2 separate regions of the Homo sapiens genome follow, and region 2 is linked to region 1. Evidence: promoter capture Hi-C in 16 types of primary human blood cells and fetal thymus (Javierre and others, 2016). All regions are on one chromosome and are shown on one strand. The core of a region is centred on a gene start or on the middle of the fragment in contact, and the rest is flanking DNA. Distances in the headings are between cores, read along the strand shown.

The links. Contacts are between HindIII fragments. The CHiCAGO score rates a contact against its expected background, and 5 or more counts as called.
Region 2: a contact is called between a fragment that was not itself captured here and the fragment with the promoter of TACR1 in region 1, in 1 of 17 cell types (megakaryocytes). The highest score is 5.9, in megakaryocytes.

The regions. Positions count from the first base shown.
Region 1 is chr2:75,197,271-75,202,782 of GRCh38, reverse strand. TACR1 (tachykinin receptor 1) reads left to right here and starts at 3,263. Exons shown (of 5, transcript NM_001058.4): 1 at 3,263-4,237. The coding sequence starts at 3,849. All of the region lies in intron 2 of TACR1-AS1 (TACR1 antisense RNA 1), which reads right to left. The HindIII fragment of the contact is 965 bases long and covers 2,659-3,623 here.
Region 2 is chr2:75,237,641-75,243,152 of GRCh38, reverse strand. All of the region lies in intron 2 of TACR1-AS1 (TACR1 antisense RNA 1), which reads right to left. It overlaps LOC107985900 (a long non-coding RNA gene), which reads left to right. Exons shown (of 2, transcript XR_001739546.2): 2 at 5,291-5,512. Among named protein-coding and RNA genes, the nearest start is that of TACR1, 41 kb to the right of the region's middle. The HindIII fragment of the contact is 2,613 bases long and covers 882-3,494 here.

The DNA.
Region 1 (5,512 bases), core at 2,014-4,513:
AGAGAATTGAATGTATAAATTACGGTGTATCCATAACATAGAAATAATATTTAACCACTGAAAAATGAGTTAAATCTATACCTGTTGACTCTGAAACAGCTGGGCAAAGTTTAGAGTGGGAAAAACAAAATACAGACAACAATGAAAGTCCTATATTTGCATTTACATGTGTGAATATTATGTATGTTTGTATTTCCATCTAGATAGTATCAAAGAGTCTGGACAAATAAGGAAGGATTTATACTACATTGTTAACAGCGTTTACTTTAAGATGTGTGATCCTGTGTTGAGTGTCAAGGAAGATGTTCAGTGAAAAGAGGAACGAAGGGGGAAAAAGGATAAGAAAACAAGAATATCAGCTCTTGGAGGGAAATAGCATGTATAGAATTTTATCTATATATTTGTGCAAAGCTGTAGGGGGAAAATTCATTACTTTATAGATGGGTGATGCTAGATAAAGTGTCTCCTCATATCATAGGTATGAACCAAAAACAACTTCTGCTACTGTATAGCTGAGGCTTTTTTTTTTCCTCAATGGTGAACCCATCATGAATATGCTTTTTCTTTTTAAGAAGAGAAACTAGCTTTAGCAAGTCATAAGGATTCCTAAGATATGGCTACCAGCCATGAAAATCCCGGAGTAGAAAGAAAAACAACCCCAAGTCAGACTCATCAACACATCAGAGTTGAAGGCCAGGGTAAGGAACGTAGGTGTCCCAGTGCCTGGCACCAGTTCCACCATTTGAGGTGGCTTTGGACTGGCATACAAAGCCTCAAAGTTAGCCGAGGGCTAGGCAGGATGGAGGCAGGGAGAGAAGGCGGGCTGACCTGCGCTCCAGTCCCTATGCAAACCTGGAAGGTGAGCAGGGAGAAGAACCCCTGATGCCACCCAGGGCCCCGCTCTGACCTGCAGGCTCATAGGTGGGCAGTCATTATGGGACTTTAAGCAGAGTGACAAGGTTTGATTTATAAAACTTCAGCCTGAAATATTCGCCTTTTTTCCACCCTCAACCTCTTCCCATCCTAACTCATTCTTCAGGCTTCTTCATGGATGAGATTTTCTTCCATCTGTACGGATACCCCTCATTGTTTAGGTTAGGTGGCCTCCCTCTTCTCTCCTCACTCAGGGCTTAGTACCTTTGGTCATCATAATACCGCCCATTTTGTATGGTTCATTGCTTCTTGTTTGTCTTCCTCCATACTGTAAGTGCTTGTTCACCCCCCAGCCCCAGTGCCCAGCACAGTACCTGCTTCAAAATATCAACTTGCTGTACTAATGGAGGATAAATGGATTAATGTTTACTTTTTAGCTATTTCATATTTATTTTATATTTAGCTCTTATTACATATTTAGATTTTATTCGATTAGCTTTCTTTTTCTCCCTTAACCACTGAATAAAGTTCCTTTTGAAAACGTCAGCCTGGCTCTAATGGACAGGGAGAAAAAAGAAAAGATAACTTTAAACAGCTTGGAAGGAAAATTAAAGATAGAGAAGTTTCCCCTCCCCCCTCCCCCACCCTCCGCATCCCCTTCCCTCTCCCTTTTCCTCCCTCTCTCTGTCAGCTCTTTGAGATGGTGGAAGCCTCAAGCAGAGATCCAAGGTGGAGGAGGCATTCCCTTCCACAAAGAAGACCTCTTGTGCAGCCGCTCTAAATAAAGGGACGCTGTTCTCTTGAAAGCATCTCTAGAGTTTTCTATGCAGTGTGTTTACGGGTGCCTAGGAGAACCTGGCAAAGCAATGTGCGGTTCCTATATACGCTAAAATCCCAGGCTCCGAAAAAATACAGAGTGAAACAGCAGATTCTCCTCCCCGGCGTGGGATCCAATTTTTGCCCGGCATAAGTGTATAGTAAATTTCCCAGCCTTAAAGCACTTCCCGAGAGATGCTTTGAGCGCTCGCGGTACCAGTGCGTAAACGCCGCTCCCCGGCTGGCGCGGGTGTGCGCCAACTCCAACCTGCGCGCAAGTCTGCCGGTGCGCGCTCCAGTCCCACAGCTCCGAGTCCCCGCAGTGAAAGGAGGGGGCGGTGCACCGGGGTAGATGGGCCCCTGAGGACTCCCGGGGTTCAGTTTTCCGCGGAACTCTGCCTGCAGCAGTCTGGCGGGAACGTGCTGCGGAGCTCATCCCATCTTGGCTTCTCCAAAAGGGTTTATACGGACTGGCGAGTCTTTGCCCTGCCTCCTCCAAGTGTCTGGCACCAGTTCTACCGTTTGAAATGGTCTTGGACTGGGATACGAGGCCTCAAAGTCAGAAGACGGCAGGGCAGGATGGAGGCGGGCAGAGAAGGCTGGCTGACCTGTCCTCCAGCCCCTATGCAAACCTGGAAGGGGAACAGGGAGAAGGACCACCGATGCCACCCCGAGCCCGGCTCTGGCCTGCAGGCTTGGCAGGCGCGGAGGCGGAGGCTGCCAGGTCCCCGGGAGGCAAACGCAGCGCCGCAGTGATTGCTGGCGGAGAGCCCAGAGCCGCGCGTCTGAGCGACAAGCTGCCTATGAGTGTGGCTCCTGCGCTCACCAAGATTCGCAGGGAGCTCAGCCCTGTCCCCAGTGATTGAGCAGAGGCTCATCCAGAGGGGTCAGGTGGAGGGCTCAAATGGAGCTTCTCCTGGAACGAGGGGCCAAGTCACCAGGGTGGCTGAGGAAAGTGTCCTCAAAGCTTAGAGACTGTCACTTCCCAGGTGAATCAGCTAGCCAGGTAACTGAGCTAGATATTTTGTGGGGGTGTTTCCTAAACACAGCCTCAGGAAAGTTGTTTTCGGGACACCTGGACCAGGGAGTCGTCGCCTCTGGCTTCTCGGTAGCTGGAGCGCGGCCCGGAGCGCGGCGCTGGCACATCGCCCCCACACATGACCGTTTCCCATTGCCACAGGCAAGCCGCCTCTGCAGAGCTGTCTCAGGGCTCTGGGCTTCATTCCCTGGAAGTTGATTGTCCTCCACTCCAGCTGTTTCCCAAATCCTTCCTTCCTCCCAGCACCCCTCGTGCAACGACGATTCCAGCTGCGGACCGCATCTGTGTCAGTTACTTCCAAGCCACCTACTGCCCCCTCGCGGAGTGCGTGGGGCTCCCGGCTCGCAGACTCCCACGGCAAGTAGCAAGCAGCAAAAGGCGTGGTAGCTGCGGCGGTGGAATGAGACAGTTGTCAACAGCTGGCGCAGCTGCCGCGCTGCGCACCGGGACTGGCGAGTACGCAGCCCAGGTACTGCCCCTTCCCAGTGACGTCTCTGCAGGGGGTTATAAAAGCCTCGTGCGCAGCTAACTCGCGAGCTGAGCAACCCGAACCGAGAGGTGCCCGCGAAACTGCAGGCGGCGGCAGCGGCAGCAAAAGAGAAGGAAAAATCTCCAGCTGGATACGAAGCTCCAGAATCCTGGCCATAGGCTCAGAACTTTTACAGGTCGCGCTGCAATGGGCCCCCACTTCGCTCCTAAGTCCTCACGCAGCACAGGGCTTTGCCTTTCCCTGCGGAGGAAGGAGAAATAGGAGTTGCAGGCAGCAGCAGGTGCATAAATGCGGGGGATCTCTTGCTTCCTAGAACTGTGACCGGTGGAATTTCTTTCCCTTTTTCAGTTTACCGCAAGAGAGATGCTGTCTCCAGACTTCTGAACTCAAACGTCTCCTGAAGCTTGAAAGTGGAGGAATTCAGAGCCACCGCGGGCAGGCGGGCAGTGCATCCAGAAGCGTTTATATTCTGAGCGCCAGTTCAGCTTTCAAAAAGAGTGCTGCCCAGAAAAAGCCTTCCACCCTCCTGTCTGGCTTTAGAAGGACCCTGAGCCCCAGGCGCCAGCCACAGGACTCTGCTGCAGAGGGGGGTTGTGTACAGATAGTAGGGCTTTACCGCCTAGCTTCGAAATGGATAACGTCCTCCCGGTGGACTCAGACCTCTCCCCAAACATCTCCACTAACACCTCGGAACCCAATCAGTTCGTGCAACCAGCCTGGCAAATTGTCCTTTGGGCAGCTGCCTACACGGTCATTGTGGTGACCTCTGTGGTGGGCAACGTGGTAGTGATGTGGATCATCTTAGCCCACAAAAGAATGAGGACAGTGACGAACTATTTTCTGGTGAACCTGGCCTTCGCGGAGGCCTCCATGGCTGCATTCAATACAGTGGTGAACTTCACCTATGCTGTCCACAACGAATGGTACTACGGCCTGTTCTACTGCAAGTTCCACAACTTCTTTCCCATCGCCGCTGTCTTCGCCAGTATCTACTCCATGACGGCTGTGGCCTTTGATAGGTGAGATTAGCCTTTGTGAAAAGGCGAGAAAGTGCTCATAGAGGACCACGGCATTGCTGTGAGGTTTGGAACTGGGTGGGGTATGGGTCAAGTGGAAGATTGGCCACTCTGAGGGTTTTTTTACTGATCAACTGAGTCATTTGTTGATGGGGAACTTCATCTTATGTATTTCAACTTTTTTTCCTCTTTTTTACCCATCACTCTCTCTCTTCCTTTCAACACACATCCCCCTTTTCTTCATTTAACTCCCCTTTCTTCATCTCTTCTCCACTCATCTTCCTGACACTTTCAACTTCTGCTTTGCTCCTTTCCATATATTCCTTCTCCCCTTTACCCTTGCAGGCTGCAAACAATACCTAGGGTTTGGTCAAAGGACTAGACCCTGGAAGGGGCTTTGTAAATTCCTCCAGGCCTGTTTTTCTGTCAGACAGCCTCTTGTTGCCTTCCTGTTTTAAGTACACCTAGAGGATTCTGGGACTTTCTGCTCCCACTGCAACTCTCCAGTTTGTTGTTGTAGTTGTTGTTGTTGTTTGGTTGGTTGGTTCGTTGGTTTGTGTTTGTTTGTTTGTTTGTTTTGGATGTGAAAGAGCATTTCATCAGTATCATAAGATACTCAGAATTCTAATGCAGTTTACTCTGTAATGCTAGGAATTCTCATTCAGGAATGAGAGACAGTTATGCTATCCTTAAGAAACTCCACGGATAGGGATCCAGGAAGCTTACCCAAGAGGTGTTCTAAATTTCTCCTGCAATGTAAAATGTATGTATTTAGCCTGTCTCTATCCACAGAGAAACATGCTTGGCAAAGGCATTTGAGAGCTCTTCTGTTCCGGCAACCAACAGGTTAGGGTTCCCAAAGCTGACTGAAAGTGAAAAGGTTGGCATTTCAAACACTGGGGATGGTATTCTGGAATGAATGGCTCTTCAGGTAGCATGATGGAAAATTGATTATTGGAGCACAGCTCTGTTGGTATTGTCTCCTTTGTGAGTATCTTAGGTCTCCAATGTGTATGTCTATGTGTGCACAGGTGTTAAATGTTTACCTGGGATGTGAAAGTATGCTTAAAACACCTACCACTGTGATTTTAAAATGGAGTCTTTTGATGTCCTTCCTGAGATAACTGAATGTGAGAAACCCAAAGAAGGAGCTAGGAGAAAACTTCAAAAAAAATTCCAAACTACTAACCCTCTTTGCATAAAGATTGTTTATAACTTGCAAATTATTAGAAGTCTTTTTTAGCTCCTGTAGTCAATGAACACTTTTAAAATCAGGGA
Region 2 (5,512 bases), core at 939-3,438, 41 kb before region 1:
CTCCTGAGCTCATGATCTGCCCGCCTCGGCCTCTCAAAGTGCTGGGATGACAGGCATGAGCCACCACACCTGGCCATAAGTAAAGCTGGTCTAGTTGTAATGAGTTCCCTCAGTGCTTGCTTGTCTGAAAAGGATTTTATTTTTTGTTTGCTTATGAAGCTTAATATGGCAGGGTAGTGAATTCTTGGTTGGAATTTCTTTTTCTTTAAGGATGCTGAAAATAGGCTTTCAACCTCTCCTGACTTATAAGGTTTTTGCTGATATGTCTGCTGCTGGCCTGATACATGAACTGACTCTTCTCTCTAGCTGCCTTTTAGATTATTTCATGTTGACCTCAGTGAATCTGACAAATATGTGCCTTGGGGATGGTGTTTTGAATGATACCTAGCAGGAGTTCTCTGTATTTCTTGAATTTTCATGTCAACCTCTCTAGCTTATTTAGGAAAATTTTCATGGACTATGTCTTTAAATATATTTTCCAAGTTGCTTACTCTCTCTCCTCTCAGGAATTCCAGTGAGTGGTAAGTTTGATGTCTTTACATAATCCCATATTTCTCAGAAGTTGTATGAATTTTTAAATCCTTTTTTTTCCCTTATTTTTATCTGACTGACTTGATATGAAGAACTTTTCTTCAAGCTCTGAGATTCCTCAGCTTGGTCTCATGCTGTTTCTCAGCTGCATGACACTGGTGTTGTGTCTGCATTTCCTTTGTTAGGTATTATGCTGTTAATACTTCCAATTGTATTATGAAATTCTTGTAATGCATTTTTTGGTTCCAGAAGTTCAGTTTGGTTCTTTCTTAAAATTACTATTTTATCTTTCAGCTCTTTGACTATTTTACTGGATTCCTTGGATTAGGTTTCAACTTTCTCCCTAAGCTTGATGAGATTCCTTGACATCCAGATTCTGAATTCTACATCTGTCATTTCAGTCATTTTAGTCTGTTTAAGAATCATTGCTTGGGAGCCAGTGGGTTTGTTTGGAGATAAGTGGACATTCTAGCTTTTTGAATTGTCAGAATTCTTGTGTTGATTCTTTCTCATCTGAAAGGACTTATGTTCCTTTAACTGTTGTGTAAGTTGAATATAGTCAATTGGCTTCATTTCTGGGTGCTTTCAGAGGGCCAAGACTCTGTATACTATCTTTATTTGCGGCTGGATTCTTGTCCTTGGTTTCAAAGTGACAGAATATTTTTGCAGTTGTAGTTTAGGCTGTGATTCAGTAGATGGCACTAAAGAATTATAGCCAGAAGATAAGTGCTTATCTGCAGGGCTTTATTGTATTTCCTCATATTTGCAGCTGTCCTCTGTGGTGGAGGAGGGAGAGCTGACTCCCTCACCGGGTCCATTTCTAGGCCTTGGGGGAGACCTCTCTGATCACTGGTGTTCTGTCTTTATTTCCTTTATTAGGTGTTCTGGGCCACGAGACTCCCTCAGGCAGAGGCTATGGCAGGGCGATAGGCCACATTCTTTCCAAACTGGCCCTGTGGAGGGAGGAACACCCTGCTCCCACACCAACCCATGAACCGATATGTCTTATCACCCCTTTCAGTGCTCTGAGTATGAGGACTCCTCCCCAGCTCCAGTACCAGCCACAGATCTCAGCTCAACACTCTCGAGCTCTGTACCACAACCCCAGGATACAGGGACCAGCCAGCAGCTTCATCCCCTGGACCCTTGGGTTGGGTTCCAGCTGTGCTGGGGGATCTGATGTGCTCCCAGGCCACTGGGAAACTACTTAGATGGAGCAAAGGATCCAGGCTAAGCAGCAGAGGCTGTGCTGTGTGCATACTCCTGCAGAATGGCCAGGCAGGGGTCCTGGGAAGGGCTGGCAGGCAGGTGGGTCTGCAGAAAAGATGCAACCCAGTCCCATTGGGAAGCACCAGCCCTGTTCTCTCCTGATCTGGTGGTCAGCTGGGGCTAGAGTTACTTGGAAGAAGATAGAGAGCCCTATGGGCGCCTATGGCTGTACTCCACTGCAGCTGCCCCAGGCACAAAAGCCCCTAGGCTCTGCTCCAGTTGAAGCCCTGTCTCTGCCTACTCTCAGGGAAGATTCCCCTGCCAATTCAAACATCCATGGGGCATGTGGGGTCCCCTATAGCTAAGATCACAGAGGGCCATGGTGAAAGTAAGCTGTCCCTCTGTTTCTCTACTCACTCCTTCCACATGATCCATTCAGGGCCATGAACTAGCCCTAGCATTCATGTATCCTGCACAGGGTTCCTAGCTTTTTCCCTCTTCACCCTCAGTGTCTGTATCACCTTTCCAATAGCTGTTGGTGTTTTCTCTCTGAAGGTCTGCTCAAAGTATGTGCAATACTTTGGTCTCTCTCAGTGGAAGCAGTGCTTCCTGGATGCATCTAGTGAGCCATTTTGTCCCCTCTGAAGACAACTGCCAATCTCTGCAGCATGAGCTGCTTCGTGCCCAGGAGCTCCAAGGTGCCACCAACCACAAGGGCTACAGCCATGCAGAGCATGAGCATGCAGGCCTAGGTGTCCAGGGTGGGAATGGGGCTCTGGCTTTTTCGAACAGTGGGCACAGGCATGCTGTTCCCACCATCAGCTCAGGCACTGGCAGGAGGAGGGTACCACTCAGGAGGCTGTGAGAGAAGGATCAACAATTTTTTTTTTTTTTGAGACGGAGTCTCGCTCTGTTGCCCAGGCTGGAGTACAGTGGCACTATCTCAGCTCACTGCTACCTCTGCCTCCTGAGTTCCAGCAATTCTCCCGTCTCAGCCCCCTGAGTGGCTGGGACTATAGGCGCCCGCCACCATGCCTCTCTCATTTTTGTATTTTTAGTAGAGATGGGGTTTTACCATATTAGTCAGGCTGGTCTCGAACTCCTGACCTTAGGTGATCTGCTGGCCTCAGACTCCCAAAGTGCTGGGATTACAGGCGTCAGCCACCACGCCCAGCGACAATTATATTCTTGAAGGGAGGAGGCAGTATTATAAACACAATAATTTTTCCAAATGAGTATTGTATTTAACGTAATTTTAATCAAACCTCCATGGGAGCTGGAATTTGACAAAATTAGTTTGAAATTTACCTAAAGAGAGAGAATAGTAAAGAATTTTTAATAGTAAGAATAATAAGGGTGGAGAGCATGCTCTGACACATGATAAAACAGATTTTAAAAGCTATGATACTCAAGACAGTATACTTTTGGCAACACTAAAATAAAATACAGATGTCTGAATTAAACAGAAAAGAAACTGTGAAAATGACCATGCAAGCCAATACCATGCATAACAATTTTAATAATCAATAGGAAAATTATAATCTTTCATAAATTTTTAAAAAATTATCCTGTGGTTAGTTACAAATGCATAGAAAAATGCGGAAAATGGCAAAACTAATGTTTATTTAGCACGCTGAAATTTTAGAAACATTGATAATTAAAGCGCTACATTTATCTGCAAAAAAACTCACCAAGAGTCATTTTAACATTGCTTACCTTCTTCTCATGGTATATCTTATGATAGGAAGCAAGCTTCACTTCTATATCTTGGCAACTTGTCATATTCCTTCTTAAGTTTGGATCCGTTTACATTATTTTACCCTTTGCACTTTCAATGCTGTAAAATGTCTCTGAGAATTCTTTTAATGCTGAGTTTATTCCTGGCAGCGCTTCCTCAAGGACATCTTCATTCTTTTCGTCAGAACCACTTTCCTTATTTACACCATTAAGTAGACTTTTACTAAGTTCCTTCTGGCTACTTATCTAGAATTTCTCCAATGACAGCAGTGTCAACATTTTTATGGTCATTTATTTCTTTTATAACTCCATTTATGTTCAATTCTACCTCTACTTCTAGTTTATCACTTTCTTTGTTGCGCTTTCAGTTTTGCTGGCGAATTTCTTCTTTTTATTATTCATCTTTTGTAAAACATCACGTATTTATCATTGTGAGACAAGGAGGGACTAAAACTTCACACTTTTCTGTGTGTACATAGACTGAATAACAGTTGCACAGTGACTAGTCATAGACAGAATTTAAAAGAATGTTGCTGATCATGGATGATGATGCACATTTTTTTTTAATGTAGTCATTTGTGGGCTGAAACTTGTACCTTATACAAGCACTCACGATATACCATGATAACTGAAATTTAATTATGTTGTTAGGAGACTGGTGTCATTTAATCAAACCATGGTAACTAAAATCCATGCATATCAGAACCATGTCAAGTGAGGAGTTTGTGTATGTGTGTGTGTGTGTGTGTGTGTGTGTGTGCGCGCAAGAGACTGCTATAATTCAGGGTCAAAAGAAAGGGAGGAATATTGTGTAAGAGATGCTGAGACAATTGATGTGTTACTTGAAATATGACAATGTTTATATCTGTCACACTATACTCAGAATAAAGTCAAGGTTTTTCAGAGTTAAAAATAAAATCATCAAGCAGTAAGAAAATTATGTGAGACTTAAAAACAGTTTGCTGATAAGGTAAACTGGGGTCTATAAAGCTCAGAATAATGTTTGTAGTGGTTGAGCTCCTAAAGTTTAATAAAGTAAACTTTATTGAAAGGTACTTTTAAACATATTATATCATTCTATCCTTTCAACAATCTTGAAAAATACCTAGTAAAGATAGCACATGTGTAAGAATGGCTTTGTTCTTATGAGATATGGGTTGAAGTATTTAGATATGAACTGTTCTGATGTCTGCACTCAACTTTCAAACAATTTGGCCAGAAATATATATATCTGTAGATAGATGACATAGGTAAATAAGTAATGGTGACAAAATATTAATAATGAATAAGTGTAAATTAAAAATATGTAGGAGTTCATTACACTATTCTTTCACTATTTCTATAGTTTTAAAAGTTTCTAAAATGCAAAATTTAGAAAAATAAAGTAAAGCATCTACAGTGTATTTTTGAAGGATGCTTAAACAAAACTTGCTTCATAAATTCTGGATTTATTATTTTCTTTAATGGGAGTCAGAAGAAAAATTTATTAATTTGAACATTTGTCCATTTTGTGCTTTTAGTATTAAATATTTACTACAGTTCAGCTGTCTTTTAGAGACACAAATAATTTTAAGGATTCATGTTGACAGCTCTTTTTCTTAGTTAAAAGTTAATCAAAATAGATTTGGTCCTGAGAATGAGGGTGTGTAATGAGGCACTTCTGGTAGAGCTGAGTGAAAGATAAAGCATTGTTTCAAGTTTATGCTCTTATAAACCAGAAAGTCTAATTGTGTCCCTATTGCCTCACATCACTTTTTTCAACTAGCTTATAATTGACCATCACTGGCAATTGATCTTCTCCTTTACTATCTAGGACACAAGATATGGATGTGACAGTTGGCACTACAGGTCTCTCCAAAAGTAGGAAGTGCAAGGGCACATGTGGAGCTGCCTAAAGTTTGCACAGAGATATTGCTCCAGAAACAGAAACCACACAGAATTCCGCAGGCATCTGAGCCTGGAGCAGCCTCAGCTGGGTGCCATTTTGACCCCAGATACTGGAGATTTACAGACATGGTTGCAGCCATTGCACTGC